Linked DNA regions of Homo sapiens: all the other regions are linked to region 1. Evidence: promoter capture Hi-C in human tissues and cell types (Jung and others, 2019). All regions are on one chromosome and are shown on one strand. Each heading gives the region's core, a stretch centred on a gene start or on the middle of the fragment in contact. The rest is flanking DNA. Distances are from core to core; before and after follow the strand shown.

What was found. The method cuts DNA at HindIII sites, captures the fragments that hold promoters and counts their contacts. A contact is called where the count stands out against the background at its distance.
Region 2: the fragment with the promoter of SLC45A2 here is called in contact with a fragment that was not itself captured in region 1 in 1 of the 25 tissues and cell types used here (hippocampus).
Region 3: the fragment with the promoter of AMACR here is called in contact with a fragment that was not itself captured in region 1 in 1 of the 25 tissues and cell types used here (bladder).
Region 4: the fragment with the promoter of C1QTNF3 here is called in contact with a fragment that was not itself captured in region 1 in 2 of the 25 tissues and cell types used here (hippocampus and mesenchymal stem cells).

The regions. Positions count from the first base shown.
Region 1 is chr5:34,183,543-34,191,143 of GRCh38, reverse strand. It overlaps a transcript of C1QTNF3 not described here and the pseudogene LOC646652. Among named protein-coding and RNA genes, the nearest start is that of C1QTNF3-AMACR, 63 kb to the right of the region's middle. RefSeq lists enhancers at 1-430, 1,285-1,354 and a silencer at 2,604-2,772. The HindIII fragment of the contact is 9,368 bases long and covers 1-7,601 here.
Region 2 is chr5:33,981,212-33,988,812 of GRCh38, reverse strand. It overlaps SLC45A2 (solute carrier family 45 member 2), which reads left to right and starts at 4,120. Exons shown (of 7, transcript NM_016180.5): 1 at 4,120-4,614; 2 at 6,401-6,577. The coding sequence starts at 4,230. It overlaps AMACR (alpha-methylacyl-CoA racemase), which reads left to right. Exons shown (of 5, transcript NM_014324.6): 5 at 1-2,648. C1QTNF3-AMACR (C1QTNF3-AMACR readthrough (NMD candidate)) reads left to right here. Exons shown (of 9, transcript NR_037951.1): 9 at 1-1,827. The HindIII fragment of the contact is 13,392 bases long and covers 1-7,601 here.
Region 3 is chr5:34,003,406-34,011,006 of GRCh38, reverse strand. AMACR (alpha-methylacyl-CoA racemase) reads left to right here and starts at 2,957. Exons shown (of 5, transcript NM_014324.6): 1 at 2,957-3,234; 2 at 5,108-5,251; 3 at 6,273-6,433. The coding sequence starts at 2,988. C1QTNF3-AMACR (C1QTNF3-AMACR readthrough (NMD candidate)) reads left to right here. Exons shown (of 9, transcript NR_037951.1): 7 at 5,108-5,251. RefSeq lists a silencer at 2,741-2,820. The HindIII fragment of the contact is 16,164 bases long and covers 1-6,625 here.
Region 4 is chr5:34,040,423-34,048,023 of GRCh38, reverse strand. C1QTNF3 (C1q and TNF related 3) reads left to right here and starts at 4,811. Exons shown (of 6, transcript NM_181435.6): 1 at 4,811-5,201. The coding sequence starts at 4,899. The region is part of intron 1 of C1QTNF3-AMACR (C1QTNF3-AMACR readthrough (NMD candidate)); the gene reads left to right. The HindIII fragment of the contact is 5,092 bases long and covers 2,163-7,254 here.

The sequences.
Region 1 (7,601 bases), core at 2,528-5,027:
CTGCAGGGGCCGACCTTGTTCTTCTCATGCCGGCATCCCTGCTTGCAGCTGTGAAGGGGGCAGGAATCATCGAGGTGACCTGGGCTGAGTCCCGGGAGTGGGAAGAGGTGGCAGGAAGGGGATCTGAGGAGGAGAACAGGGGTCCTGGTGGTCTCTGCTTCTTCCCAGACACGGGAGCTGTAGAGGAGACCTCTGCAGCAGATGCTAGGGGGGCCACTAGGCCCAGGCAGTCTTGGGACTTGGGTCTGTCCTGCTGTGCATCCATAGTGGGTGCTTTAGAAACGGGAGGCCCACCCGAAGCCCCTGTTGCAAGTGAGGACAAAGTGTGGGAAGGCCGTGAGGGTCTGCAGTCCGAGATGGCCTTGTCCTCAACGTGCAGTGCACTGTTGATGCGCTGGAATGCCGCCTGTTTTTCCAGGTGCAGGTCTTCAGCCGTGACCCGGTACCCCAGCTCTAAGGGAGGTGGCATCATCAAAGGCTCCCCTCGCCTGCTTGGCAGCAGGGGAATCTTGCGTCTACGGGGCCTAGAGGCCTGGGATCTGGGGGAGCCACCCCTGGGGGCGAGTGTCTGCCCTGGTGCTGTATCTGCCGCCTTTTCACACCGTGTGTGACCCGAAGAGACAGCCTGAGGCCTGTCCTCACTCACTGTCTTTGAGTAACTGAGGGTCAGCTGGCAGCGGGATGAGGCTGGTCCCCTCCTCTGCTTTAGCCCCGGCAAGCCTCCCGTGGAGCTGTAGGAGCTGGAGATAGCATTTCGTTTGGTGCTCGAGCTCGTCCAGGATGTCTGGGATGTCTGGTTATATCTGATTTCTGAGCTCTGGGCATGGAGGTCTGTCTGCAGAGGCCCGGGCCTGGGCACAAAGGGAGAGAGGCCTCCATTGTCCCGCAGGGGCCAAAATGCAGACCGTGCATCCCCGGTGACCTCGGGGACCGTTCTGTGATCATCAGGATTTTCTTGGACTCTGGGGTCCTTGTCCTGCTCAGGCATCCCTGCCCTGCTCTCCTTGAGGGCCCTCAACACTATCTTCCCTGGACACAAGTCTGGGGACAGCCGGGTGTTGAGGAGCCCAAAGGGGTGACTACCTGCTCCTGGGCCCCACAGAGTCCTTGTGCTGAGTGTAGTGGCTGAGCTGGGGGATGCCCTGGAATTCGGAGCACACAGCACTGGCTTACTGTGGTACCTGTGCAGTGAAATTGAAGAGAGAATCACCAGGATGGAACACAGGTCTTGCAGGATCACGGAAAACCTTCTTAGAGTTGTCTTGACACCACTGATGTCGAGTGTCCGGGTGTTTGTAGGATGGCCTGCCACTCAGTCCAGGGGCAGGAGCAACGGGGAGATCCCACAAGCAAAGTGAACTGGGCGATGGGCTGAAGGGGCTCCAGGCAACTGAGCCCTACTCGCAGGTCCTCGGCCTTGGCCCAAACAGGAATGAGGGGCACAGAGTGCCCGGGTAACCGCTCCTGGGAGCAGTGGGGAACTGTCGGATACTTGAACTCTCGAGAGCTGGGCTCTGAGCGTCCTCGTCCAGCTGCCAACTTGGCCAAAGGCTAAGCCAGCAGATTGTTCTGTTGCCGGGCGACGCGACTTCTAAACCTGAGGGAGTGGGCACGTGAGCACATAATGGCACCAGTGACAGAGCGACCATAATGGATTAATAAGCGCAGCCAGGTACCCGCGCAAGGCACTTGCTGGCAATGGCAGGAGGCGGACGTGGGGGGTCGTGCAATAGGTACTGGAGGGAGAGACGTGGGCACAAAGGTCGCGGGAGGAACAGGTGCCCACAATGGCTGCAGATCTGCCCGTGGATCACTGAAGATTCCTGCTCTCCTGCTGAGGTGGAGACTGCAGTGAGCTGAGATCGCACCATTGCACTCCAGCCTGGGCAACGAGTGCAAAACTCAGTCTCCAGATAAAAAAAAAGAAAAAGAAAAAAAAGAGGCCGGGTGTGGTGGCTTATGCCTATAATCCTAGCACTTTGGGAGGTCGGGGTGGACGGATCACGAGATCAGGAGTTGGAGGCCAGCCTGGCCAACATAGTGAAACCCCGTCTCTAGTAAAAATACAAAATTTAGTCAGACATGGTGGGCAGGAGAGAGCATGTGCAGGGGAACATCCATTTATAAAACCATCAGACCTCATGAGACTTATTCACTACCATGAGAACAGCATGGGGGAAACTGCCTCCATGATTCAGTTATCTCCACCTGGCCCCACCCTTGACACATGGGAATTGTTACAATTCAAGATGAGATTTGGGTGGGGACAGAGCCAAACCATATAATTCTTCCCCGGCCCCTCCCAAATCTCATGTCCTCATATTTCAAAAGCAATCGTGCCTTCCCCTAAGTCCCCCAAACTCTTATTTCAGCATTAACTCAAAATTCCATAGTCCAAAGTCTCATCTGAGACAAGGCAAGTCCCTTCCACCTGTGAGCCTGTAAAACCAAAAGCAAGTTAGTTATTTTCTAGATACACAGGGATACAGGCATTGGGTAAATACACTCGTTTCAAATGGGAGAAATTGGCCAAAGCGAAAGAGCTACAGGCCCCATGCAAGTCCAAAACCCAGCAGGCAAATCTTAGAGCTCCAAAATGACCTCCTTTGACTCCATGTGTCACATCTAGGTGATGCAAGAAGTGGGTTCCCAGGGTCTTGGGCAGCCCCGCCCCTGTGGCTTTGCAGGGTACGGCCCCCCCTTCTGGCTGCATTGAGTGTCTGCAGCTTTTCCAGGCACACAGTGCAAGCTGTCAGTGGATCTACCATTCCGGGGTCTGGAGGATGGTGGCCCCTTTGTGACAGCTCTGCTTGGCAGTACCCCAGTGGGGACTCTGTGTGGGGGCTCCAACCCCATATTTCCCTTTGACACTGCCCTAGCAGAGGTTATCCATGAGGGCCCCCCGCTCCCGTGCACAGCAAACTTGCCTGGATTTCCAGGCATTTTCATACATCTTCTGAAATCTAGGCGGAGGTTCATGAACGTTAATTCTTCGGTGCATCTGCAGGCTTAACACCACCTAGAACCTGAAAGGCTTGGAACTTGCACCCTCTGAAGCCATGGCCTGAGGTGTACCTTGGCCCCTTTTACCTGTGGCAGGAGCAGCTGGGATGCAGGGCACCAGGTTCCTAGGCTGCACACAGCAGGGGGTTCTGGACTCACAAGAGCATTTTTCCTTCTAAGCCTCCTGGCCTGTGATGGGAGGGTCTGCTGTGAGGGTCTCTAACATGCCCTGGAGACATTTGCCCCATTGTCTTGGTGATTAACATTTGGCTCCTCATTACTTATGCAAATTTCTACAACCCAGTCTCCTGAGAAAATAGATTTTTCTTTTCTGTTGCATCATCAGGCTACAAATTTTCTGAACTTTTATGCTCTGCTTCTTCTCGAATGCTTTGCTGCTTAGAAATTTCTTCTGTCAGATACCTTAAATCATCTCTCTCAAGTTCAAAGTTCCACAGATCTCTAGGGAACTCTAGAAAAAAATTCTTATTTTGACTCTTTCCCGCCTATCTTATGCCCGTTTCTAATACAGGTGCACAGTGCCTGCAGTGTCTTTGCATAGTAAGAGTGACTTTACTCCATTTCCCAACAAATTCCTCATCTCCCTCTGAGACCACCTCCGCCTGGACCTTATTGTCCATATCACTATTAACATTTTGGTCAAAGCCATTCAACAAGTCTCTAGGAAGTTCCAAACTTTCCCACATTTTCCTATCCTCTTCTGAGCCTTCCAAACTGTTCCAGCCTCTCCCTGTTACCCATTTCCAAAGTTGCTTCCACATTTTCGGGTATCTTTACAGCAGCAGCCCACTCTACTGGTATCAACTTATTGTATTAGTCTGTTCTCACACTGCAAATAAAGACATACCTGAGACTGGGTAATTTATAAAGGAAAGAGGTTGAATTGACTCACAGTTCTGCATGGCTGGGGAGGCCTCACAATCATGGTGGAAGGCAAGGAGGTGCAAAAGCATGTCTCACATAGTGGCAAGGCAGGAGAGAGCATGTGCAGGGGAGCTCCCATTTATAAAACCATCAGATCTCATGAGACTTAGTCACTACCACGAGAACAGTATGGGGGGAACCATCCCCATGATTCAGTTATCTGCACCTGGCCCCACCCTTGACACGTGGGAATTATTCCAATGCAAGGTGAGATTTGGGTGGGGACCCATCCAAACTATGTCAGTATGTTTTGACTTCTGGCTTGATTGCTAGGTTGCATAGAGGACAAACATGGAAATTAATGAAGTACCTTAATATCTGGCTTCAGATCTTAGACAGGATCAGAGGGCCAGCTCAAATTTGCAAGGAGGGGAGGTAGATCCCACCATTTTATGGGTGAATGGCAAAATCAAACAGAAATTATGTGGGATGGGAGATACTGATGCAGGCATCTTTGGAAACATTCTACTTAGCTAATTTTATGCTAGGCTTTAGGTCAAGAAGGAGAGAGAGAGCTGACATGCTGTGGTACACACTTATAGTCCCAGCGACTTGGAAAGCTGAGGCAGGAGGATTGCTTGATCCCAGGAGTTTGAGGTAGTGTGCGATGATCGTTCTTGTGAATAGCCACTAGCCACTGAACTCCAGCTTGGGCAACATTGAGACACCCTGTCTCTTAATTTTAAAAAAAAAAAAAAAAAAAAAAAGGAGGAAAGAAAGTGGTCTCAGTTTTTAATGTAAATATTTTTAATGGGATAATGATATTTTAAGATTAATGTATATTGTATATCAGTTAACTATAGGTCAATAATTATATAAAACTTAAGGTACGAAAAACATTTATTTTTGCTAACATATCTGTGAGTTGACTGTTCCTGGCTTGGTGAGGCTGCGAGCTGCAGATAGAGTCTAGGTATGTTTTCTGTGTGTTTGTTCCCCCTTGGATCAGTGGACTACCTGAGAATGTGTTTTTGTCACAGTGATAGAATCACAAGGAAACTCCAGTTCTGGAAGTACATTTTAAGCCATTGCTTCTATCATGTCCACTAACATTCAGTCAGCCAAAGCACATACCTTGTCCATGGCTAACATTGATAGTATAGATAAATATACCTGATCTCTAGCAGGAGGAACTGCATTGTCTTGGGGAAAGGTTTTAGATATAGGGAGGGGTGATGAGTTGGGAACAATAATGTAGTCTGCCACAAACATATTAAAGTGTAACTGGATATGGTTGCTGCAGAATTTTGAACCTTTGTTTTAATTGTGATTTTTACTCTTTTTCCCCTATCTAGTGCCCTTTTGTAATACAGTAATTCTCATGATTTTTGTCTGAATTGAAATCTTCTGAGATTAGATTGTCTACGAAAATACAGTCTATCCTCCTTGTTTTCAGCTTTTGTATTTGTGAACTCACCTACTATTTTTTGTAACCCCCAAATCAGTACTCACAGCCTTTCATAGTCATGTGTTTGCGCAGAGTGTCAAAAGAATTTGAGTTTGAACAGGATGATATTCTGCCTTCTTTTTCAGCTCTCATACAATAGTCAGGTATCCTTTTTGTGGTCTATTTAATGCCATGCTTTTCCTGTTTTTGTATTGTTTGTTGGTTGTTTTGCCATTTAAATTAACCCCCAAGCATAGTGCTGAAGTGCTGCTTAGCATTCACAAGTCCAAGAAGTCTGTGATGTGTCTTACAGAGGAAATACATGCATTGAATAAACTCCATTCAGGCGTGAGTGCTGTAGTGCCATTGGCTGTGAGTTCAATGTTAATGAATGAACAATGTATATTATTTATTTATTCTTCATTTAATTAATTATTATTATTTTTTTTGAGATAGAGTCTCACTCTGTTGCTCAGGCTGGAGTGCAGTGGTGCAGTCTTGGCTCACTGCAACCTCTGCCTCCTGGGTTCAAGCGATTCCCCTGCCTTAGCCTCCCAAGTAGCTAAGACTACAGGCATGCGCCACCATGCCTGGCTAATATATATATATATTTTTTGTAGTTTTAGTAGAGACGGGGTTTCACCACGTTGGCCAGGCTGGTCTCGAACTCCAGACCTCAAATGATCTGCCCGCCTTGGCTTCCCAAAGTGCTGGGATTACAGGCATTAGCCACTGTGCCTGGCCAACAATATATATTAAATAAGCACACATACAACAAAAGTAGGTGTTGGTAAGCTTACAAAAATGTGACCAGTAGCTTGCTGAAACCTAACTTTTTATTTGTTCATGGAACTTTCTAGACCGTAACTACACTGAATAATGAGAATCTGCTGTAATCTTTTTAGGTGCTGTAGATGAGCCATTGGATTAAATTATTACAGTATGTTTCAGACTGCTCTATGTTGAACCCTAGTGAAATGCCTCTCAAACCCTCCTAAGGATCACAATCTCATGTCCTTTTTTTTGTTATTAAATGCCCAGTATGTGTTAGTGATTTAAACAAAATTCAAATTTTTTTTTTTTTTTTTTTTTTGAGACAGAGTCTCGCTCTGTCACCTAAGCTGGAGAGTGCAGTGGCATGATCGCGGCTCACTACAACCTCTGCCTCCCGGGTTCAAGCGATTCTCCTGCCTCAGCATCCTGAGTAGCTGGGATTACAGGCGCCCGCCACCACGCTGGGCTAATTTTTGTATTTTTAGTAGAGACGGGGTTTCGCCAGGTTGTGCAGGCTGGTCTGGAACTCCTGACCTCATGCGATCTGCCTGCCTTGGCCTCCTGAAGTGCTGGGATTATAGGCGTGAGCCACCATGCCCGGCGTTGACTTTTTAATAATAACCATTCTGACTGGTGTGAGATGGTATGCCATTGTGGTTTTGATTTGCATTTCTCTAATGATCAGCGATATTGGGCTTTTTTTCATATGCTTGTTGGCCGCATGTGTGTCTTCTTTTGAAGTGTCTGTTTATGTCCTTTGCCCACTTTCTAATGAGATTTTTTTTTTCTTGTAAATTTGTTTAAGTTCCTTATCAGTGTTGGACATTAGATCTTTGTCACATGCATTGTTGCAACAGTTTTCTCCTATTCTGTAGGTTGTCTGTTCACTCTGTTGACAGTTTCTTCTGCTGTGCAGAAGCTTCAAGAAGAAAGGAATCCGATTGGTTCTGTGTCTGTCTCTTTTGGTATTCTCAGACTTATGTAGTCATCCATATAGAAAGGTGATTAGGAAAACAGCACAAGAATAGCAGAAATCTACATAAAAATGTAGGAAATTAAAATTAGTTACCAGCATACAAAAAACTACTATATGTTATAATTACATACTATAACTCACCCCTCCTTGCCAAATATTCTCTCTCTTTTGACTTCAAAATCATGGCTTATATGTACTTTCTCTATTTCCCAGATGCAAATATAATTAATTGACTTTATTTATCTAGGAAATATTACTGATATCTTAATTGTAGTCATTGGCTTGAGTGACGGGTTTTGGTAATTCAACTACTATTACTTGAAAGTAGTAGATTTCATAAGATACTGTTATAAAATCTTTTTAACCTCTTTTCTGATTTCAGGAGTAATTAGTAATTGTGGTTTACTGGAAAATTCAATGAATAGCGTGTTAAAGGAAGCAATTCGTTAATAATATATCTAATCTATTGGGAGACTGAGGCGGGTGGGTCACCTGAGATCAGGAGTTCGAGACCAG
Region 2 (7,601 bases), core at 2,871-5,370, 200 kb after region 1:
ACTTATATTTTGAATGGGTTCTAGTGAAAAAGGAATGATATATTCTTGAAGACATCGATATACATTTATTTACACTCTTGATTCTACAATGTAGAAAATGAGGAAATGCCACAAATTGTATGGTGATAAAAGTCACGTGAAACAGAGTGATTGGTTGCATCCAGGCCTTTTGTCTTGGTGTTCATGATCTCCCTCTAAGCACATTCCAAACTTTAGCAACAGTTATCACACTTTGTAATTTGCAAAGAAAAGTTTCACCTGTATTGAATCAGAATGCCTTCAACTGAAAAAAACATATCCAAAATAATGAGGAAATGTGTTGGCTCACTACGTAGAGTCCAGAGGGACAGTCAGTTTTAGGGTTGCCTGTATCCAGTAACTCGGGGCCTGTTTCCCCGTGGGTCTCTGGGCTGTCAGCTTTCCTTTCTCCATGTGTTTGATTTCTCCTCAGGCTGGTAGCAAGTTCTGGATCTTATACCCAACACACAGCAACATCCAGAAATAAAGATCTCAGGACCCCCCAGCAAGTCGTTTTGTGTCTCCTTGGACTGAGTTAAGTTACAAGCCTTTCTTATACCTGTCTTTGACAAAGAAGACGGGATTGTCTTTACATAAAACCAGCCTGCTCCTGGAGCTTCCCTGGACTCAACTTCCTAAAGGCATGTGAGGAAGGGGTAGATTCCACAATCTAATCCGGGTGCCATCAGAGTAGAGGGAGTAGAGAATGGATGTTGGGTAGGCCATCAATAAGGTCCATTCTGCGCAGTATCTCAACTGCCGTTCAACAATCGCAAGAGGAAGGTGGAGCAGGTTTCTTCATCTTACAGTTGAGAAAACAGAGACTCAGAAGGGCTTCTTAGTTCATGTTTCCCTTAGCGCCTCAGTGATTTTTTCATGGTGGCTTAGGCCAAAAGAAATATCTAACCATTCAATTTATAAATAATTAGGTCCCCAACGAATTAAATATTATGTCCTACCAACTTATTAGCTGCTTGAAAAATATAATACACATAAATAAAAAAATATATTTTTCATTTCTATTTCATTGTTAATCACAACTACTTACTAAGGAGATGTATGCACCTATTGGACACTGTGCAACTTCTCACCTGGAATGAGATTGGACACTGCTGCCCTCATTTTCTGCTCCATGTTGGTGTCCATATAGTACTTGATTTTTTATCAGATGGCCTGGAAAACCCAGTCTCACAAAAATATGAAATTATCAGAAGGATTATAGTGCAATCTTATGTTGAAAGAATGAACTACCTCACTAGTAGTTCACGTGATGTCTGACAGATGTTGAGTTTCATTGTGTTTGTGTGTTCAAATTTTTAAATATTCTGAGATACTCTTGTGAGGTCACTCTAATGCCCTGGGTGCCTTGGCACAGTTTTAGAAATACCAGTTGAAAATATTTGCTCAGGAATATGCAACTAGGAAGGGGCAGAATCAGAATTTAAGCTTTCATATTCTAGCCTTCAGTCTTGTTCTTCAACCATTTTTAGGAACTTTCCCATAAGGTTATGTTTTCCAGCCCAGGCATGGAGGATCACTTGAGGCCAAGAGTTCGAGACCAGCCTGGGGAACTTGGCTGGACCTCCGTTTCTACGAAATAAAAATAAAAAAATTATCCAGGTATGGTGGTGTGTGCCTGTAGTCCTATCTACTCAAGGGTGGGGCAGGAGGATCACTTGAGCCCAGGAATTTGAGGCCACAGTGAATTAGGATTGCACCACTGCACTCTAGCCCAGGCAACAGAACAAGAACCTGTCTCTAAATAAATAAATAAAAATAATAATAATAAAAAAGATGTTTTCCCTACAACTCAGACTTTTCATTTGAACTCGGTCCAGCAAGGAAAATATAACCCACTCGAAGTCTTTAAAACAGAGGAAATTTAATATAAAGAATTCCACTGGTGACGAAAGAGCAGAGAAGCCCAGAAGATAGTGAGGCAACCCTGATAGGAACATAACTAGGAAGCCAAGACCACTCCTATGGTTGCAGGGGTGATGGGAAAGCTGGTGTACTTGGACCCAGAAGCCAAAGTTGCTGCACCCACCTTGGAGACATAGACACTGGCAGTAATACCTCAGGGAGAAGAAAGAAATCTAGGGAAATATCCTGGCTTCTTTCCTTCTCTCTCTCCCCTAGTCTTCCTACCAGTGTCTCCCATTAGCCAAATCTACCTAGAAGCCAGAAAACAAGGGAACCCTGGAAATGTAGCCCCATAAGATAAAGAGCACCAAAGGAAATAGATCTGAGCAGACAGGCAGCACAAAATGCAGTGTGTATGGTTTATTCACTCAGTAATTCCTTTAGCAAATGTTTATTGAGGATCTACTAGGTGCCAGGTATCATGATACTTGCTGGGGATACCATAATGAACAAAACAGACCTGTTCTCCGCTCTTGAGGAAATCAAAGACAAACACAGGATATGGAATAAACCCAGAATTATCTCATTGTAAAATGTGTTAAGTACCACGAGGAGAAATATCAGGGCGATCTGACACAGCTAATGATTTGAAGAAGGGTGTGACCTGCCACCATTTTAAATCTAGTTATTTCACTCCTGAGCTGTGTGTGTGGAAAACTTGTAGTAAAAAATAGAATGTCTATATTTATAAAAAGTTTATGAAAAGATATCAATTTATTTACATTTTGACAAACTCTATGTAATAAGGCTTTATTACCTCACGGCCATGTGTGTGATCATGTGTAATAGCATGTGTGTATGAGAGAGAGAAGCCATATGTAATTATGTGTAATAACGTCTGTGAGAGAGAAGCCATGTGTGTGATCATGTAAAATAACGTGTGTGAGAGAAGCCATGTGTGTGATCGTGTAAAATAACGTGTGTGAGAAGCCGTGTGTGATGTGTAATAACACGTGTGTGAGAGAGAAGCTATGTGTGCAATCATGTGTAATAGCATGTGTGTGTGAGAGAAGCCATGAGTCCGATCATGTGTAATAACGAGAAAAGCCCCATGTGTGATCATGTGTAATAGTGTGTGTGAGAGAAAAGCCATGTGTGTGGTCATGTGTAATAATGTGTATGAGAGAGAAGCCGTGTGTGATCGTTGTGTAATAACGTGTGTGAGAGAGAAACCATGTGTGATCATGTGCAATAGCATGTGTGTGTGAGAGAAGCCATGTGTGATCATGTGCAATAGTGTGTGAGAGAGAAGCTGTCATGTGTAATAATGTGTGAGAGAAGCCATGTATGATCATGTGTAATAACGTGAGAGAAGCCATGTGTGACCATGTGTAATAACGTGTGTGAGAGAAGCCATGTGTGTGGTCATGTGTAATAAAATGCATGAGAAGCCATGTGTGATCATGTGTAATAGCATGTGAGAGAGAAGCCATGTATGATCATGTGTAATAACGCATGTGAGAGAAGCCATGTGTGACCATGTGTAATGTGTGTGAGAGAAGCCATGTGTGATCATGTGTAATAGCATGTGTGTGAGAAGCCATGTGTATGATCATGTGTAATAACATGCATGAGAGAAGCCGTGTGTGATCATGTGTAATAGCATGTATGTGAGAAACCATGTGTGATCATGTGTAATGTGTGTGAGAGAAGCCATGTGTGTGATCATGTGTAATAGCATGTGTGTGAGAAGCCGTGTGTGATCATGTGTAATAGCATGTGTGTGTGAGAAGCCAGGTGTGATCACGTTTAATAGCGTGTGTGTGAGAGAAGCCATGTGTGTGATCATGTGTAATAATGTGTGTGTGAGAGAAGCCACGTGTGTGATCATGTGTAATAGCATGTGTGTGTGAGAGAGAAACCATGTGTGTGATCATGTGTAATACTGTCTGAGAGAGCCCATGTGTGTGATCACGTGTAATAACGTGTGTGTGAGAGGGAGAGAAGCCATGTGTGTGATCACGTGTAATTGTGTGTGTGTGTGAGAGAGAGAGAAAGAGAGAGGGAACAGTACAAAGGAGGATCCCTTTAGAAAAGTATTCCAACGTCTTATGGAGCCAGAGGGCTGATTCACAGCTGCTAATCTCTGTCATGCTTTCCAGCACCACCCCCTCCCTCTCATCATAACTTGTGATCTTAGAGGCAGGAAAGAATTTGAGCCCCTCCCCCAGCCTGACCATCTCTGTTGGTTGCTCGGCCAGGCTCCACGTCAAATCCAGTTTGAAACACAGACCCTAGGACCACGCAGGAGGTGGTGGGCTCGCAGGAAGGTTCCTCTCCCAGTGGCCATGGGTAGCAACAGTGGGCAGGCTGGCCGCCACATCTATAAATCCCTAGCTGATGATGGCCCCTTTGACTCTGTGGAGCCGCCTAAAAGACCCACCAGCAGACTCATCATGCACAGCATGGCCATGTTCGGAAGAGAGTTCTGCTACGCGGTGGAGGCAGCGTATGTGACCCCAGTCCTGCTCAGCGTAGGTCTGCCCAGCAGCCTGTACAGCATTGTGTGGTTCCTCAGCCCCATCCTGGGATTCCTGCTGCAGCCCGTGGTCGGATCGGCCAGCGACCACTGCCGGTCCAGGTGGGGCCGCCGGAGACCCTACATCCTCACCCTGGGAGTCATGATGCTCGTGGGCATGGCTCTGTACCTCAATGGGGCTACTGTTGTAGCAGGTAAGTGGGCTGCACAAGGTGGGCAGACAGGGATATGTGTCTTAGTGTGTACCTCTGCAGGAGGAGGATGTTCATGTGTTTGACCTTTCCTAGAAATTTGTTAGAATTGATCTCTCCTAGGTTACAATGAACTTCCCCTTTGACAAATTTGGCCCAGATTCTGTGGTTGGGGAGCCTCTACTTCTAGAAATATCAAAATAAATATGTTTCATTGTTGTGAAGATTTAAAAATAGGATTAAATTTGTATCTATTTTATTAAATTTGTATCTATTTTATCGAATTGAATATTTTTACATATTTATCAATTGAGTTACTTTTTGAGCCCATTATGCTCTATTTAATACTCTTATCAAATTGACTGGCTGCCAAATAGCTCCATAAATATTTACAATAAGTCACCTGTGTATCCAAATAAGTTAATTCTGTTCATAGTTTTATGTAGAGCGTTTTAATAGGCGTAGGGCATAAGCCCATCAGCTCAAGAGGACCTTTCTGGCATTGCAAATTCTGGACAAAAGCAAACCTGAGGGTAGGCATTTTTTCTAGCCATTAATCAGCTACCAATTAATCAGTAATTGATGGTAGTACAATAAAGTTGCATTGCAAAAAGGATCGCTAAAAATAGCACACATTTGTAGATCATTAACTCTCAAGCTAGCAGAATCGGTGATTATGAGGCAGGATAATCAATTATCATTTGTACATATTTGAAAGAAAGCGTAAATGTACAAATGTAGGATATTTCCAGGAGAATGAACAAAAAGCTGATAAGCATTGTTGACTCTAAGGAGGATTACTGAAGGACAGGAGGTGAGAAGTGGCGGGTAGACTTATTGTTCATTTAATTTTATACTGCAATTTTTAAAACGTGTATATAATCTATGCTATTCTTAAGTTTAAAAAGCAAATGGAAACAAGAGAAACAACAATGTATCTTTTATAGGAGATTGGGTAAACGATTACAGCGTATCCGTAGAATGAAAATCCAGCTGTTAAAAATTGTGAGGAGCTGAAATTATATGAAGAAAGTTGGTTACTGCATCAGTGCTGTTCAAAGATGTGGCCTCTGACCTGCCCCTCAGCATCAGCAGAGACCGTTAGAGATGCAGTTTCTCGGGCCCCCTTCAGGCCCACCAATTGAATCAGAGTCTTGGGAAATGGGGCCAGCAATCTGTGTTTTAACAAGACATACAAGCGATAGTTCAATATGCCAGACTTTGAGAAGCACTGCGTTTGACTACCATTGTACACGTGTGTCTGTATGTGCAGAAGTGCGTAAAAGGAGGCCTTAAAGCCTGACCTTTGCTGGGGCTGGGATTGGAAGCATCTCCCTCAGCTTTTTTAATAGAATTGGAATTGCTTGCGATAAGCATGCATACTTTTTTATTTAAGGAGATATTTTACATACCAGAAATTTCACTAATTAAAAGTGTACAATTCAGTGCCTTTAGTATGTTGTGCAACCATTACCACTCTCTAATTCTACAACATTTTCATCACCCCCAAAATAAACCCATTACCATCAATAGTCACGTCCACTTTTCCCCTATGCACCAGCCCTAAGCAACCACTAATTTACTTTGTGTCTCCATAGATTTGTGTTTTCTGGACATTCGCTTGCATAATTTTTAAAACCTGAAAAAAAATGTAAAGCTATTTTTATTTGGAAAAAAGCAAAATAAAAGCAAGGAAGATGATTTTATGGCAAGAAGTTTAGGTGGAAATTACAAAACGCGGATGATTCTAAAACAGGATTTAGGAGACCAATGTTTATTTTTCTTTTAGCTTTGATTGCTAACCCAAGGAGGAAGCTGGTTTGGGCCATAAGTGTCACCATGATAGGTGTCGTTCTCTTTGATTTTGCTGCCGACTTCATTGATGGGCCCATCAAAGCCTACTTATTTGATGTCTGCTCCCATCAGGACAAGGAGAAGGGCCTCCACTACCATGCCCTCTTCACAGGTAGGGAATATTCCAGAAAGTCTCTCCTTCAGCTCCCCAGACAATGAGGCACTTCCACTAAAGCCATCCAGTGTCTCTACACGTGGAGTTTTTTGAATGAACGGGTCAGCTGATGGGCTGCTCCCGTCATGCGGGCACTGTCTCCCCGTGCATTTCTCTGAACAGTCAGCTTGTGACTAGTGCTGCAGTTTCTGCAAAGGAAGTTTACAGAAGAGCTTTCTTAAGAATGCTTTGTGGAGACAATTACAACTGAAATGGAAAGAAGCCTTGTGGATTGTACTTTTGCATTAGAGCAGAGGATCTCAAGCATCAGCAATGTAGCATCCACATTCCTTAGAAGGTCATTGAAAATACAGTTGCCTGGGCTCCTTCTCCAGTTATTCTGATTCAGTGAGTCTAAGGCGGGGCCCAGACATTTGTATTTTATTTAATAAAGACCCCAGATGATTTTGTGGCAGGTTTAAAAAACAAAAAGAGAAAACAAACCAAGCAAACAAAAAACTCAACGTCTTAGAAATTTCTTAGTTATGTAAAAGGTTGGCATTTCCTCAACCTTGTGGTTTGAAAAAGTTCATGCCAGGAGGAAAATGGGAGCTCTCTTGATCTCTTGGGACTGTTGCCAGCCTACTTTGGTTACTGTTGGTCAATTGTTTAGAGCAATGCTACTCAGAGCACCAGTTAGGACTATGCTAGAACTAGGCATTGAAATATAAGGCGACAGGAGGATCCTGGCCCAAGAGGATTTTTATATCTAAGAGGGGGACTCTATCAGCCCACCTTATTTGATTGTCTTTGTAGCCCAGCCAATGCCTTTATTTATGTTTTGATGTATTCTCTCTCCTTCCATGGCCAGGTAGGTCCATGAAAAGCAAGATTTCAAGTTTTGCTCATAGTTTCTGTCTCTAGAGCTAAGACTGCTGCCTGCCCATGGAAGCCACTGGAGCCAATATTTGTCATTTGAGCAAACATTTGAATAGTTGAAAACATGAAGGAGTGAGGCCGTTGGAGCACAGTTGGTAGATCC
Region 3 (7,601 bases), core at 1,708-4,207, 180 kb after region 1:
GGGGTCTCACTGTGTTGCCCAGGCTGGTTTCGAACTTCTGGCCTCAAGTGATCCTGCTGCATCAACCCCCCAAAATGCTGGGATCACAGGTGTGAGCCACTGCATCTGGCCACTATTTTGAAATATACCATATACTGTTGTTAACTATAGTCACCCAACTGTGCCATCAAATACTATTATTTAGCTATTATTTATTCCTTCTAACTACATGTTCATACCCATTATCCAATCTCTTTTCATCTCTGCCCCCCCATCATTCTACTCTTTATGAGATTAAATTTTTAACTCCCACATCTGAGTGAGAACGTGTGATACTTTTCTTTCTGTGTCTAGTTTATTTCACTTGACATAATGACCTCGAGTTCCATCCATGTTGCTGCAGATGACAGGATTTCATCCTTTTTTTATGACCAAACAATATTTCATTGTGTATATGTACACATTCTCTTTGTCCATTCATCCAGTAATGGACACTCAAGTTGATTCCATATTTTGGCTATTGTGAATAGTGCTGCAATAAACATGTGGGTACAGGTGTTCCTTTGACATACTGATTTCTCTTAAGATTTTTATCAAGACAATATGTGCACAGCTGAACATAGACCCTTATCAGGAGTTTTTGATTTTGCCTTTTGCCTTGTGATCTTTATTGGCCTCAGAAGCATGTGATCTTTGTTCTTCTTGTTTGCCCTTTGAAGCATGTGATCTTTGTGACCTACTCCCTGTTCTTAAACCTCCTCCCCTTTTGAAATCCTTAATAAAAACTTGCTGGTTTTGCGGCTCAGGTGGGCATCACGGACCTACCAATATGTGATGTCACCCCTGGTGGCCCAGCTGTAAAATTCTTCTCTTTGTACTCTTTCCCTTTATTTCTCAGACTGGCCGACACTTAGGGAAAATAGAAAGAACCTATGTTGAAATATTGGGGGCGGGTTCCCCCGATACTTTTGGACATATATCCAGTAGTGGGACTGCTGGATCATATAGAAGTTCTATTTTTAGTTTTCTCACAAACCTCCATACTGTTTTCCATAATGGCTAAACTAATTTACATTCCTACCAACAGTATATATAAGTTCCTCTTCTCTGCGTCTTTGCCAGCATTTGTTATTTTTTGTCTTTTTGATAATAGCCAGTCTAACTGAAGTAAGATGATATCTCATTGTGGTTTTGATTTGCATTTCCCTGATGATTAGTGATGTTGAGCATTTTTTCATATACCTGTTGGCCATTTGTATGCCTTTTGAGAAATGTCTGTTCAGATCCTGTGCCCACTTTTTAATGAGATTATTTCATTTTTTGCTGTTGAGTTGTTTGAGTTTCTTGTATAGTCTGCATATTAGTCACTTGTTGGATGAATAATTTGCAAAATATTTTCTTCTATTCAATAAGTTGTTTATTCTGTTGTTTCTTCTGTTGTGCAGAAGATTTTTAGTTTAATATAGTCCCATTTGCCTATTTTTTGTTTTTGTTGCCTATGCTTTTGAAGTCTTAGTCATAAAATCTGTGCCTAGGTCAATGTCCTGAAGTGTTTTATCTGTTTTCTTATAGTAGTTTTATAGTTTTGGGTTGTATGTCTTAAGTTTTTTAATCCATTCTGAGTTGATTTTTGTGTATGGTGAGGGATAGGGGTCTAGTTTCATTCTTCTGCATATGGATTTCCAGTTTTTCCAGCACTACTTATTGAATAGAATGTCCTTAATATATGTTCTTGGTGTTTTTATTGATAATCAGCTGGCTGTAAATATATGGATTTATTTTGGGGTTCTTTATTCTGTTCCATTGGTCTTTGTGTCTATTTTATGCCAATAGAATGCTGTTTTGGTTACTACACCTTGGTAGTATAATTTGAATTCTGGTAGTGTGTTGCTTCCTGCTTTGTTCTTTTTGTTCAGTGTTGCTTTGGCTATTCAGGACCTTTTGTGGTTTTATACAATTTTTTTTTCTATTTCTATGAAGAGAAAGCCACAGAGTCCTAAAATAATTCTAAAACTCATCATGACTTTCTTGCCTAAAAGATCTTGATTTCAATCGTGCCTAGTTTTGCTTTAATCACTTGCTTGAGAAATACATAAATCCCCACTTAAGATTAGTGCAGGCATATCTCTGGCACCCATTTCTGGTTCTATTAAAATTCCTAGAGATGTCAAAAATTACATTAGGCCACCTGACAGGCTATACCTAGAAGAGAAAAAATGATTTGTAAAAGCAGTGGGGCTATTTGCGATTGCTTTTTTTTTTTCTTAAATATCACCTATTAGGTTGAAAACCTGAAATTGCAGCTTTCTGTAGAAATGGCGGAAGACAAACTAACATTTTTAAAGCGCTCTCATTTAGCTCTGATGAGTACTACACCCCTGATATTCTTCTGATACTAAAATAATTTTCCTAGTGTAGTCTAAACTTTTTTAAAAAGACATGTAATCCGCGGAGTTTGTAACTCAAAACGAGTGCATCTAGGAGGTATCGCAAGCCGTTTCTGGATTAAATTCCCAGCTAGCTAGCTAGCTAAGCAGGGGCGGTGAAGAAGACAATCTGCAGCCTAGGGAAGAAAACGCTTTCGCATTGTTCTTACGTGTTTACGTTATTTTATTTCCCTAGAGCAAGGCAGGAGTAGGGACTCGAATGGTACAGTTGGGCTGGGGATCGCCCTGGTACAATAAAAGCGTCCAGAGAGGACGGTAACAGGCAGGAGCTCCAAAGGTCAGTCCCTGCAATTTAAGACTCAGGAATTTAGGTTGCACAAAAAGGAAAGCAACCTACTGCATTTGGCACTGGCGGTCCCGGGAGGCCGGGGGTGGGGAAGCGCCCAGTGCGCAGACTCCGCGGGCTTGCGCAGGCCCGCAAAAGAGGGACGGGGGTGGTGCCTTTGGGGCGCGGCGCCGCGGCTGGGGGCGTGGCGCCGGGGATTGGGAGGGCTTCTTGCAGGCTGCTGGGCTGGGGCTAAGGGCTGCTCAGTTTCCTTCAGCGGGGCACTGGGAAGCGCCATGGCACTGCAGGGCATCTCGGTCGTGGAGCTGTCCGGCCTGGCCCCGGGCCCGTTCTGTGCTATGGTCCTGGCTGACTTCGGGGCGCGTGTGGTACGCGTGGACCGGCCCGGCTCCCGCTACGACGTGAGCCGCTTGGGCCGGGGCAAGCGCTCGCTAGTGCTGGACCTGAAGCAGCCGCGGGGAGCCGCCGTGCTGCGGCGTCTGTGCAAGCGGTCGGATGTGCTGCTGGAGCCCTTCCGCCGCGGTGAGCCCGGGCCCCGCGGGCTGCTCTCGGGAAGTTCCCGCGGAGGGGAGGGGCCTGGCCGTTCGATCGAGGCTGCACCCGCCACACCTTTGCCCTGTTGCCGCAAGAACCCTTGTCGGCCCCAGCCTTCCAGATTTTTGCCTCCTAGGGTATTGTTAGTGATCATTCTTCCCAAACTGGATTGTCCAAAACTTGGGTTCTGAGATACTGCTGTTGCCCGGTTTCTCCTTTTGCCTCTCTGACTCCTTCCCAAATTCCTCCTTTTTTTTCTAAGAAACGTTCCGTATTTGCCTTTCTTAATTAATTGAGGGTCTTGAACCCTGTGAGAATCTAATGAAAGCCATAGGATTCCCTTCCTGGAAAACTGCATATAGGCGGTCATTCGGCTACCGTTTTGGAGTGCTGTACCCTCAAGCCATCCACGGGCCCAGGCTAACGCTCCTCCCTGCCTGAAATGCTGGCGTTCTAAGTCTCAGCATCTGCTCCCTGAAGCCCAGTTACCCATTCCCATCATTTTCACCTTTTTGTAGACTTCCCCCTTTCAGAGCGGCAGACGCTGGCATACACAGGTCCTGGGCATCGCCGTCAAGGCTGCCCGCCAGGCAGCTTCCACAAATCCCAAAATGAGCCTTTCCTTCTTCCTTCTAAAACAGCATCTCCACCTTCTGTATTATTTATTTCAGTGAATGCCTGAATCTCAAACTTGTACTTCATCATGGACTCCAGTCTTCCTTTCACATCCAATTTCAATGATCATCAATACAGTCATTTTGCTCCTTAGCCCACTCGGACTATTTCTCTCCATACCTGCTGCAACTGCCTTGACACTGGTGTGACAGCCTTTTAAAAACTGGTGTTTGGGGCTGGTATCACTCCAGTGGATTCTCAGACAGCTGCCAGAATAACTTTGTTCAAGTAGAAATCCAAAGCATTGCCTGGTCTATAGTGGGAAATCGGTAAATGGTGAATGAATGAATGCCTACGGCACAGCCGGCTTATTTAAATGCGTTAACTCATTTAACCCTCACAGCTGTATTTGAGGCTTGTAACAATAATGATTTAATAATTAAGATTATGTAATAATTTAAGAATGCTCCATTTAAGATGAGGGAGGCTTGTCCAAGGTCTTGTAATTAGGAGGAAGGTCGGCTGGGAATACGGATATAGCCTCCGGGTGAGGAGTTGTGACTGGTGTTTAGGTAGATGACTAGAGGTTTTCTGTGATTTATTTTAGCCTTAGGAAGGTAAAGATAGTGAGTTTATTATGTAATTTTGATTACTTTTAATCCCAGGAAATTTCAGGTGCTGGTTACCTGGGGTTTGTGCTATAAATACTATACTTGTTGATAGCTTAAAAACTCTCAGGTGCTATTGTCACTAACCACTCTTTCTACAGATGGGTGCTAAACTTTTTCGTGAAGGTACTGATGCTAGGCACTTTAGCGCCTGTGGAAACATCAGGTGTAAATTCTGCAGGAGGAGCTCATGAGCTGATAGGGAAGATAAGTGTATGCATGTACAAGCAAGTGCAGCTAAGGTGGGATGTGGTAAACACTGATGCGGTATAGAAAAAGAGAAAAGGGATTTACTAAAGGGATGAGACCCTGCTCTGGGGATTGAATAAATAGGCTTGGATAAACCTAGAGGGAAACAGAGATGTACTGGGAGAAATTACATCCTGGGAAGAAGCCACACATTCCAGAAATGGTGGCTTCACTCTTTGAGTCCTTAACTGCTGTAAACATGCCATTAGCCTACAGCAAATGTTATTAATATTACTTGCAATGGTGCTATTTTATGTTTGTCTCAGAGAAGGGATTATCTCCATCCTCAATTCATACTCTCTTAAGAAGATCGTTACTTTTCTCTTAAGGTGTCATGGAGAAACTCCAGCTGGGCCCAGAGATTCTGCAGCGGGAAAATCCAAGGCTTATTTATGCCAGGCTGAGTGGATTTGGCCAGTCAGGAAGCTTCTGCCGGTTAGCTGGCCACGATATCAACTATTTGGCTTTGTCAGGTATGTTGAAAAAAAATTTAGTCTACACTTTTAATTTATTCCATCAAGATCTACAGGTATGTTGATTAACAATAATTTGTAAAGGTAAAAATTTAAACATTTATCAGAATCAATCAAGAGAGCATGGGTGTTCAAAATGGATCGGTTTGAGTCTTGAAACAATCATTCTCAACCTTCCCTCACCCCATCCCTTAACAGGTTGGAAGGTTAATACATGCCCACTACTATCATTTATTTACTACATTTGTTGAGTCAATTCTCAGACAAACCCCTGCTAGGAATTAAGAGGCTTACTGGGTACTACGGATGGTTGCTCTGTGGTTTGAAAATGTTGACATAGTTAGATTCTGACAGCTACTTCTCCCCCGGACCCCGAAATCTCCACCCACCATATTGAGAATCATTGCCTGAGTCATTGTTTCAGACTTCTATGAGCACTAAAAAAAGCCCATGGTTTTCAGGTCCTAATATCACTTTATTAGAGTTTTTGCCTGTGACGACATGTGAGATAGGCCTGATTCCAGAATTCTAAGAACCATGTGTTGTTGACTATAGGACATTTCAGATTTTCTGTGAGTACACATTTAAAAGTTGAGGAAAGAAGTGGGTATAGAATTGTCTCTTCACATCTACTTAAAAATTAAATTCCTTTTTTTTCTTGTCTGCAAGTATTTTCTTACATTTCTTTATGCTAAGAATGAAAGTGCATTTACTGTTTTAAAACCACAAAATAAATAATCATTTTCTTTTCCAAAAGTAAGTGAGTAAAAACTTAGCAATATTTGAAAATGTTGGTTGGAATAGGTTTTAGAGAGGAAAACAACAAAACAAGGATCCTGTCTTGAGGGAAAGCCTGTTTATGAGTTTACTGACTAAGCTCAGATTTGGAAAAGTGATGTATACTAGCTTTCACTTAGATTATCTGCTGGAGAGATTGATTATTCCTCTAAGATGCTCACATATTTATTTTAAGAAGAGATTAAATTTAAAAGAGACATTAAATTTGTTTTTAATGATGTAGGTGTTCTCTCAAAAATTGGCAGAAGTGGTGAGAATCCGTATGCCCCGCTGAATCTCCTGGCTGACTTTGCTGGTGGTGGCCTTATGTGTGCACTGGGCATTATAATGGCTCTTTTTGACCGCACACGCACTGGCAAGGGTCAGGTCATTGATGCAAATATGGTAAGTATTAATTGGGGTAGATGCCTGCCACTTGTCCCTAAGTTTAAGATATAGCTGCTTAAAATCCTTTTTTTGAAGAAGAAGACAAGAGATAAATGACATTTGAAGTTTCAAGCCAGGTTACCAAGGATATCCTTTTCTTTTTAAAATAGACTTATGTCTTTTATATATCTGTTAGAATGTCATATTTTGATCATCTGTCCTTGGAGTCAGTTCTCTGAACTTTCTGTGACTCATGTGATTCCTACGTTGTTTTAGGTTGGTGCAAAAGTAATTGCAGGTTTTGCCAAATATTTGCCAACCTAAATATTTCAACAATTTTCCCCAAGTATCTCTTGTGCTTAGTATATCATTTTCAAGCAGTCGTCATTCAAAAAAAGTTCAAGAAGTCTCCCTCAGCTGGTAGAGAAAATTCTTAGGAATGCTAAGGTCAAATGGACCTCCCTGTCTAAACCTTCCTGCTGCGTTTTATAGGGGATGCTCTGATATCATAACACTTCTGTTTGTTCACTGTCATCCACTGAGTGCTTGCCTCATGTTCTGCTGAGCACATTCCCTGTGTGATTTCTTCTTATTCTCAAAACTGCATTTGGAATACCTTGTTGTTTTAAAGAGGAGGGAACGGAAGCATTGCCATTTGCTCAAGATCTCACAGCTAGTGGGTAAGAGAGCCCACTCCAGCACCACCACTGCGTGTTTGCATTTTCACAGACATTTGGAGGTGGGATGGAGAATGGATCTGAGGAGACAAGACTGGAGGTACAGAGACCAATGACTGGGTTATTGCTGAAGAGATCAGGGCAAGTACTAAAGCAGTTAATGGTAGAGTTGGTTTGCATTGAAGGGACATTTGAGGTATAAAATTGCTGGGAATTGATAATGGACTGACAGGGAGCGAAGAGGGAGAAGTTGAGGCTGGCTCCCAGGTTTCTGGCTTAGATGACCTGCTAGTGTCTTGAGGGAAGACTGCTGAACACAGTGGTCAGAGCATAGAGTGGCAGCTGACTACCTCCGTCCCAGCTCTGCCATTTACTAGCTCTGTGATCTTGGGCAAGTTACTTAACCTCTCTGTGCTGTAGTTTCCTTTGTAAAATGGAGATAATAATGACATCCACCTCATAGCATTGTTAGTTGCTATGAGAATTCAATGAGTTCATCCATTGTTCAG
Region 4 (7,601 bases), core at 3,562-6,061, 140 kb after region 1:
TGAATAATGACCCTAAACATGTAATTCCACCAAAATTGTAACATCCTGACCAGCTGACCAACTTCCTCTCTTATTCCTTTGTTCCTCATTTTGCCCTGTACTGGTGGCAAGGTGAACCCATTTTTCTTCAAATGGCAATATCTAATATCTATAGGCAATGTCCCCTTTCTGAACACACTCTGATTCTTTTTAAAACTTCTTCTTCAACTGGAATTTCTCTGTAGAGCATCTGAAAAAGCCCTTAACATGAAGTCATAAACAACCAATACAGCTAAACTACCTCATCTCAAGGTGTATATTAATTTTATTTGTATATTGATAAATCTCTAATTGGTTTAAATCAAAGAGACTAAGCCTTGATTTTAGAATCTCAGAATTCACTGTGCTTAGTACGGGGAGTATTTTTCACTGGGAAGAGGCAAGAGAGAGGTGGGTCACATTTCCACTGCTCTCGAAAATCATGCAAACAGTTGCCTCCTTTAGCTGCTCTTTAAGTTGGCACTGATACAAAGACACGTTCAGTCCAACACAGTTCTTGACTGTCCCTTGGCCAGACCATAACTGATCTCCTTTTGGCTTAGGCCACAGTGAAGCACCATGGGGGAGGCCACGGAGTACCTACACATCTTATAACGGCCTCCTTTGTAAAGCTAAACAAATATTTCCCTCTGCCTTGCAAAGCTGAGTCACAGATCTGGCTTTTACATGTATATTCATATGCATCTGCACCTCTGCTGCTCACATTAGTGGCCCTGCCAACGTCCTAACTGGGCCCTTGGGGCCAAGGCAGGCAGGATGCAGTGACAGTCCCAGTGTATCCAGGAGCCTGATGTCCTCAGGTGTCTTTTGTGAACTTTCACAGCCAGAGACAACTGTGCAGAACTGGGACTTCATCACCTCCAGGGAGGTTGCCTGGGGCAGATTCTAGATGGTTTTAATATTCAACCCATAGGTAAAAAATTATGCCCAATTGTTATTCACATCTTTGAAAACTAGACATAAGGAACATTCTGGAGCATATATGAAATGATAACCAAGTAAGATTTAATAATAAACCAATGTTTAAAATGCATTTAATGAGAAATTACTGGAGGGAAGTAAAAGATACCTATATTGAAAGATGAGGGACTCTTCTCTCTGGCCCAGTTTTCTACTTACTGCCCATGAACTTAAGTAATTTACTAAATCTTTTCAGACTGTCATCTCTGCGTGTACAAGATAGTACATGTGTAGACTCCAGACCTCTACTGGGTCTGGAGTGTTTTTGTTGTTGTTTTGAAAAGTTTTCATACATGTTCTCCCTATTTGTTTGCTAAGACTGACATAGCAAAATGCTACAAATGAGATGACTTAAACAGTGAAATTTATTGTGTCACAGTTTTGGAGTCTCAACGTCTGAGATCAAGGTGTTAGCAGGGTTGGTTCCCCCTAAGGGTTGTGAGAGAATCATCTGTTCCACGCTTCTCACCTACCTTCTGGTGGTCTGCTGGCAATCTTTGGTATTCCTTGGCTTGTAAATGCATTACCCTCATCCCTGCTTTCATTTTCACATAGTGTTCTCCTGTGTGCATGTCTGCCTCTGTGTCTAAGTTCTCCCTTTTTATAAAGACACAGTCATTTTGGGTCAGGGCCCACCCTAATGACCTCATCTTAAGTTGATCACCTTTAAAGACCTATTCAAAAGTAAACTGAGGCACAATACAGTTTTAAAGAGTTTGAGCAAACAGCAATTCATGACTCAGGCATGAGTCTAAACCAGAAGAGGTTCAGGAGCTCTACCAAGGGAGCACAAGGGGTGGGGAGGCTTCTACAGGACAAACACAGATATAAAGCAAATAAAATAGTTGATTGGTTACAGTTGTACAATTGCCTTATTTGGTCTCTCCCATTGGAAAGCTTCTGAGTCATTTAACTTACATTGTGTTTTTCTTTAATATAGGCATTTACAAAAAGTTGCTGAAGTTAAGTTTTGCCTATGTTTGCAAACCAAGCAAGGTTAAGGCCACTTATGAAACCTAATTGGCTTTGTCTGCTAAGGGATTCTTCAGGCCTGGTGTCTATTTTCATTTACTTTAACAATCCCTATTTTTAAATAGGTCATATTTGCAGGTACTAGGGATTAGGACTTAAGTTTCTTTTGGGGGTACATAATCCAACCCATAATACTTTCTGACCCCAATTCTTGAAGGCAGGCTCCCTGGCAGCTCTCAGACTGACCTTCTTCTCTCTGCCATTGACCCATTATTGATTTCTTGGGAGAGATCAATAATGGGCCAATGGCAGAGAGAAGGAGAGATCCTTCTTTGCAGAATCCTTCTCTGTAGATCTTTCTCTATAGCAAGGCAGGAGAACTCACTCTGGAAAGACAGATGGAGTCCAGTTCTTTCCAGCTGCATAACACAAGACAAGTCACTTTACCTCTGCAAGCTTCTATCACCTCATCTATAAGATGGGATCATAGGTTTGCCAACAGAAGTCAGTGAGATAAAGCAAAGTAGTACTTGGCTAGCACATGGTAAGTGCTTAACAAATTATGGATATTATTATTTATTCCTTTTGAGTCAATGAGAGGATGGATCAGTGATTCCTAACCCTGGATGCACCTTAGAATCATCTGAGGGAAGCTTTTAAAAACTGCCCAGGCCCCAGTACAGATTCTGACTCAATTGGTCTGGGATAGAGTCCAGGCATTAATATTTTTAGAAGCTCCTTGGTTTAATATGCAGCCAGGGTTGAGAACCACTAGAATAGATGACAGGATTGAAAACACGAATGGAAAGTCTCAATGCGGTAGAAAGTCAGAGGCTGATTTATAGTTACTTAGCAGTATGGCCCACTTCGTGGGGGATGCATGATGGTGAGAGCCAGAGACAGCTCTTGGAAAACCTGTGAATTGGGTGACCTAGATTTCAGAGCCACTGCTTGCTTTGTGGTCTCCCTGTGACATTTTCTCTGGGCCTCCCTGAGGAGGGAACACCCCCACTGAGACACTGCTCTGGGCTTTCCTTCCCACAGCAAAAGCCCATCCACTTGCTCACCCTCCAAACACAGGCGCCATCCTTTCCCCAGCTCCAGCTCCAGGTCTGGGAAGAAAATCCTCAGTTACTAAGAATAACAGTTTGACACACTTCCCTTCCCAGGGACATCTACCTTTTAATGGTGGACATGACAGAACTCAAGGAATCCTCCAGTGAGGAAGGTTTAGATGCTCAAGGGTAGACTTGTAGCACAGAGATGGCTGAATTTTTATGCCCTACTAGGTGGGAACTGACTGCTTGGACTGAACATGACTCCCAAGGCCCCTGAACTGTGGCCTGGAGAGCTTTTAGTTCACAGAGTAACTCTCTCCCTCCGTCCCCAGCACCAAACCCTTTCCATGTATAAGTGTGGACTCTGGAAGCGGCTGTTCTGGTAGCTGCAGGAGGGGCCAGGCTAGTTTTGACAGTTCTGGCCACTTCCAGAGATGGCTCTTGGTTCTCAGGCCCTTGGCTGAGCAATGGGGGCAGCTGTCAACAGCTCTCTCTCCTCTCCCCTTTCCCCAGCTGCTCTGACTCTTCATCAGCAGGCTGAGCTTCTCCAAGCCTCAGTTTCCCACAGTGCCTCCTCGCCCCCTTCTCATCAGACGCTTGCCACCCATGCTATTTACGGTCCTGGGTCTCTCCAGTTTTCATGAGAGAAGGCCAGTAACATTTTCTTAAGCGAGTGAATGAGTAATATAAATAAAATCATATGTAAATAGAAGCAATTTTTGATGACAAAACTGTTTAAATTCTCTTAATTTATTATCCTGAAGCAATTAGGAATGTCCATTTTCTTTTTGGCTGAATTAATAAAAGTATAGCAACTAAAGCAAAGACATGAGAATCCTCTTAATCTGGATACGCTGTGTTTGAAATAACGTGTTTGGTGCTTTCCACTTCTTCAGTTTTGTTATTTATTTATTTTTTAAGTAGAGACAGGGTCTCACTAAGTTGCCCAGGCTGGCCTCGAATTTCTGGGCTCAAGGGATCTACCTGTCTTGGGCTCTCAAGGTGCTGGGATTACAGGCATGAGCCACTGTGCCCGGCCCCGTTTCTATTTTAATCAAGAATATGTCAAAAGAAAGAGGAGCCAGAGACAGCCTTCTCTTAACACAAAGCAGGGTGTTGTATCTTCATCTGACAATAAGTGACTTAGTTAACTTTGATTTAATTTTGGCTTTTGGGAAGTCATGGGGAAAAGAAGTAAAGCTGAGGGTGGCGAAATACCTTTGCTAAACCCAGAGACACTGCACCTGAATCCTGCTCAGTGTTTTGTAGGCAACCAACTGCCTTCTGCCACTGGTATCCGGAAGGGGAAATGAGTTACCTTAAGTGGGCCAAAGTGGGGAAATACTAACAGTACAGCTAGAAACCAAGAGCTGTCGTGAAAGCCCTGAATGGGTTCCCACTGCTATTTCAGACAAAACTGATGCAGTTAAGCCTGAATTTCCTGGCAAGCACAAGGGTAGATTTTTCCAAAAGGCTTTTTAGACTGCAAATACACAGCCTTTCCATGTCTAATCACAAAAGCAAACTGCTGGACACATGCTCTCTGTTCCCAGCTGGTTGTGTATGTTTTCTTCACACTTCAACAGAAACGTGCCAAGGTGTGACATTTATGAATTTCGCCAACTGGGAACTGTGCACACAAATCGTTCTTGCTTGTGGTGTGGGAAAATGATGAATGGGGGCTGTTCTGCCTGGGGAGGAGGGCTGCTGTCACTCTGGCATGCCTACAGCCTTATTTATTACACACCAAAGTATAAAACCACTCCGCCGCTGCAGCTCTCAGCTCCAGTCCTGGCATCTGCCCGAGGAGACCACGCTCCTGGAGCTCTGCTGTCTTCTCAGGGAGACTCTGAGGCTCTGTTGAGAATCATGCTTTGGAGGCAGCTCATCTATTGGCAACTGCTGGCTTTGTTTTTCCTCCCTTTTTGCCTGTGTCAAGATGAATACATGGAGGTGAGCGGAAGAACTAATAAAGTGGTGGCAAGAATAGTGCAAAGCCACCAGCAGACTGGCCGTAGCGGCTCCAGGAGGGAGAAAGTGAGAGAGCGGAGCCATCCTAAAACTGGGACTGTGGATAATAACACTTCTACAGACCTAAAATCCCTGAGACCAGATGAGCTACCGCACCCCGAGGTAGATGACCTAGCCCAGATCACCACATTCTGGGGCCAGGTACTCAGAATTCTCTTCTAAGGATTTTTGTGAAAGCTTAATGAGTGTTGTTGTTGTTGTTTTGTTGTTGTTCTTTTTTTGGCTAAGATTCTTAGAATCAATGAATGCTTTCGAGAAGTTCGCTAAGCTGCTTGTGAATCTCTTTCTGGATTGCTCTTGGGTACAAGAGAGACTGTCGGTCTCTGTTAGAAAATCAGCAGAGGCAGCAATGATGTGATGGGATAGTGGCCGTAGCATCACCCCATCAGAAAGGGGAACCTGGCCAGCCAGCTTCCTGCTATGCTGGGACTTGATTTCCTTCTTGCTCTGTTGGTCCGGAAAGGAGTGCTGACCCATGCAGACAGATCGGTCACTGTAGACAATCATTTGTTGTTCTTAAGAGAATTGGGCTTTCTTCATCCCTTCCGGCAGGGAGAAGCTGCCCTTTGAGTTTGTCAAAAGCAATCAAAGTTTTTTTACTTTGATTTGTGAGTATACTGTGACATTTCATGGCAGTCTTGTTTATTTGATTTATAGCATTCTAGATTGTTAAGCCTCTCTGTTCAGCCTGTTTTAAAAAGAATTAAAGAGTTAAATAAAAAATAAACTGTTTGAAATGCATACCTTATAGCATGATTTGATGCCTGATAATCACAGAGGACTTGATCTATTTCTCAGGTTATAAATTCAGCTCTAAGGAAATATCTTTAACTCTTGGTAGTATGAGAGTGAGTTAAGATTTCAGTATAGTGAATTGCAAATTGGTGAAACTCAATGTAATTTAAAATATTAAGTACAGGAAGAGACATATTTTGAATTACCCTCTAGACATCTAGTATGCTGAAAACTGTCAGAGGGGGCAAGAAGAGTTACTTTGAGTTATATGATATTTGAACATACAGGTTTTTACTACAAGATTTGATTACTTTAATGCATTAAATAGGACCTGAAGAATTTCTTGTAATTGAAATCTAAATCCTTCCTACCATGGATTCAGAAGTTTGGGTTGGTTGTTTGGTTATATGGTCAGACCAAGATCACACACAGAATCAATTGCAGATTTGAAACTAACCCAGAACTTCTAACTTGACCACACAAGGCAGTTGCCCAAACCATTCTGTGGGGGATGCATCCAGAGAAAATTGCTTCTTTAAGGAGCCACGGAAGAAATGATAATCTCTAAATATGATCCTATCTTTTGAAAACCACTTTTAGAGATTGTCTATTCATCTGATAATCTTTTGGCTAAAGGGTAATGATTAGCACTAATTTGTGTGTGGGTTTTTGTTTGTTTTTGTTTTGTGGTGAAGATATTTTCACTTGTGTCCAAGACTTGATCTGGACTTTCCATTTCACACATGGTATCCTTCTTGGCCAACAGATGGTATCTTTCCTGGCCATGACAGTGTGATTCCCCCAGAGGAAGCAGAAGGAAGTTAAAGGTTGTCTTTGGTCATTATGTCCTGACAACCAACACCCAGCAGGCCACTGAAATTCAAATCACATTTCTCCTTCACTCTACCTTCTAGGTTCCTGAAGTATTTTCAAACAAACCACCAACAGGAGATATTGAGGATATTTAGAGTTACTGACATTCTGGAAGTTTTCACTACAACTCCTCTACCAACGGCTATGGAAACCACAGTTTGCATTTAGGATTGTGCTATGTTCTTCCTTCTTTCCCTACTTCCCCTGTCCCTCTTCTTTGATCGTAATTCAATTTTCCTCTTATTCATTCAGTTCCCGTGTATTTCTTGTGCTTCTACTTTGTACCAAACTTTAAAAGGGGGGCCAGGGATATATAAAGATAAATATGCCTGAGCTCCCATGTCCAAACCATCCTGAAGGGCTGTAGTAGAGATAAATTTTTGTTAATTAAATTAAGTTTAATTAAATGCCATGTGTTAAATAAAGTCAGTACATGAAAGGCAATTGGGCAAAAGTGTCAAAGTACTGATAGTTTTTGAGCTGGATCTTAAAAGATGGTATTAAAAGAATGACTATCCACAGCAAATTAAAAAAAAAAAAGTGCTGCAACAGAGACTGGAAAGCCTGTGAGGAGTTGGCTGTGGCTGAAGCTCCTGGGTTGGGGATGCAGGGGTGGGGGTTGGGGGGACGACGGGACATTACACGACTTTAGTGCCAAGAAGGATTCTGCTAGCTGGTTTAGGAGCTTAGATTTTGCTTTGCTAGCTAGGTTTTGTTTGTTCATAGCAGGACAGTGAGGTAATCAGATATATGGTCTGGAAAGATGCTCCAGCTGTGGGTTCATGGTGGAGTACAATGGCCAGAGATCTGGGGTGGGCAGACCTGGGCTCTTTTTTCCTGGTATTTTCTTCTCTGTAGCCTCTTTTTCATTCACCTTTGTCAATCTCCCCTCCTTCTCCCGGATACCCATTTCTCCCTCCTCCCACTTCCCTT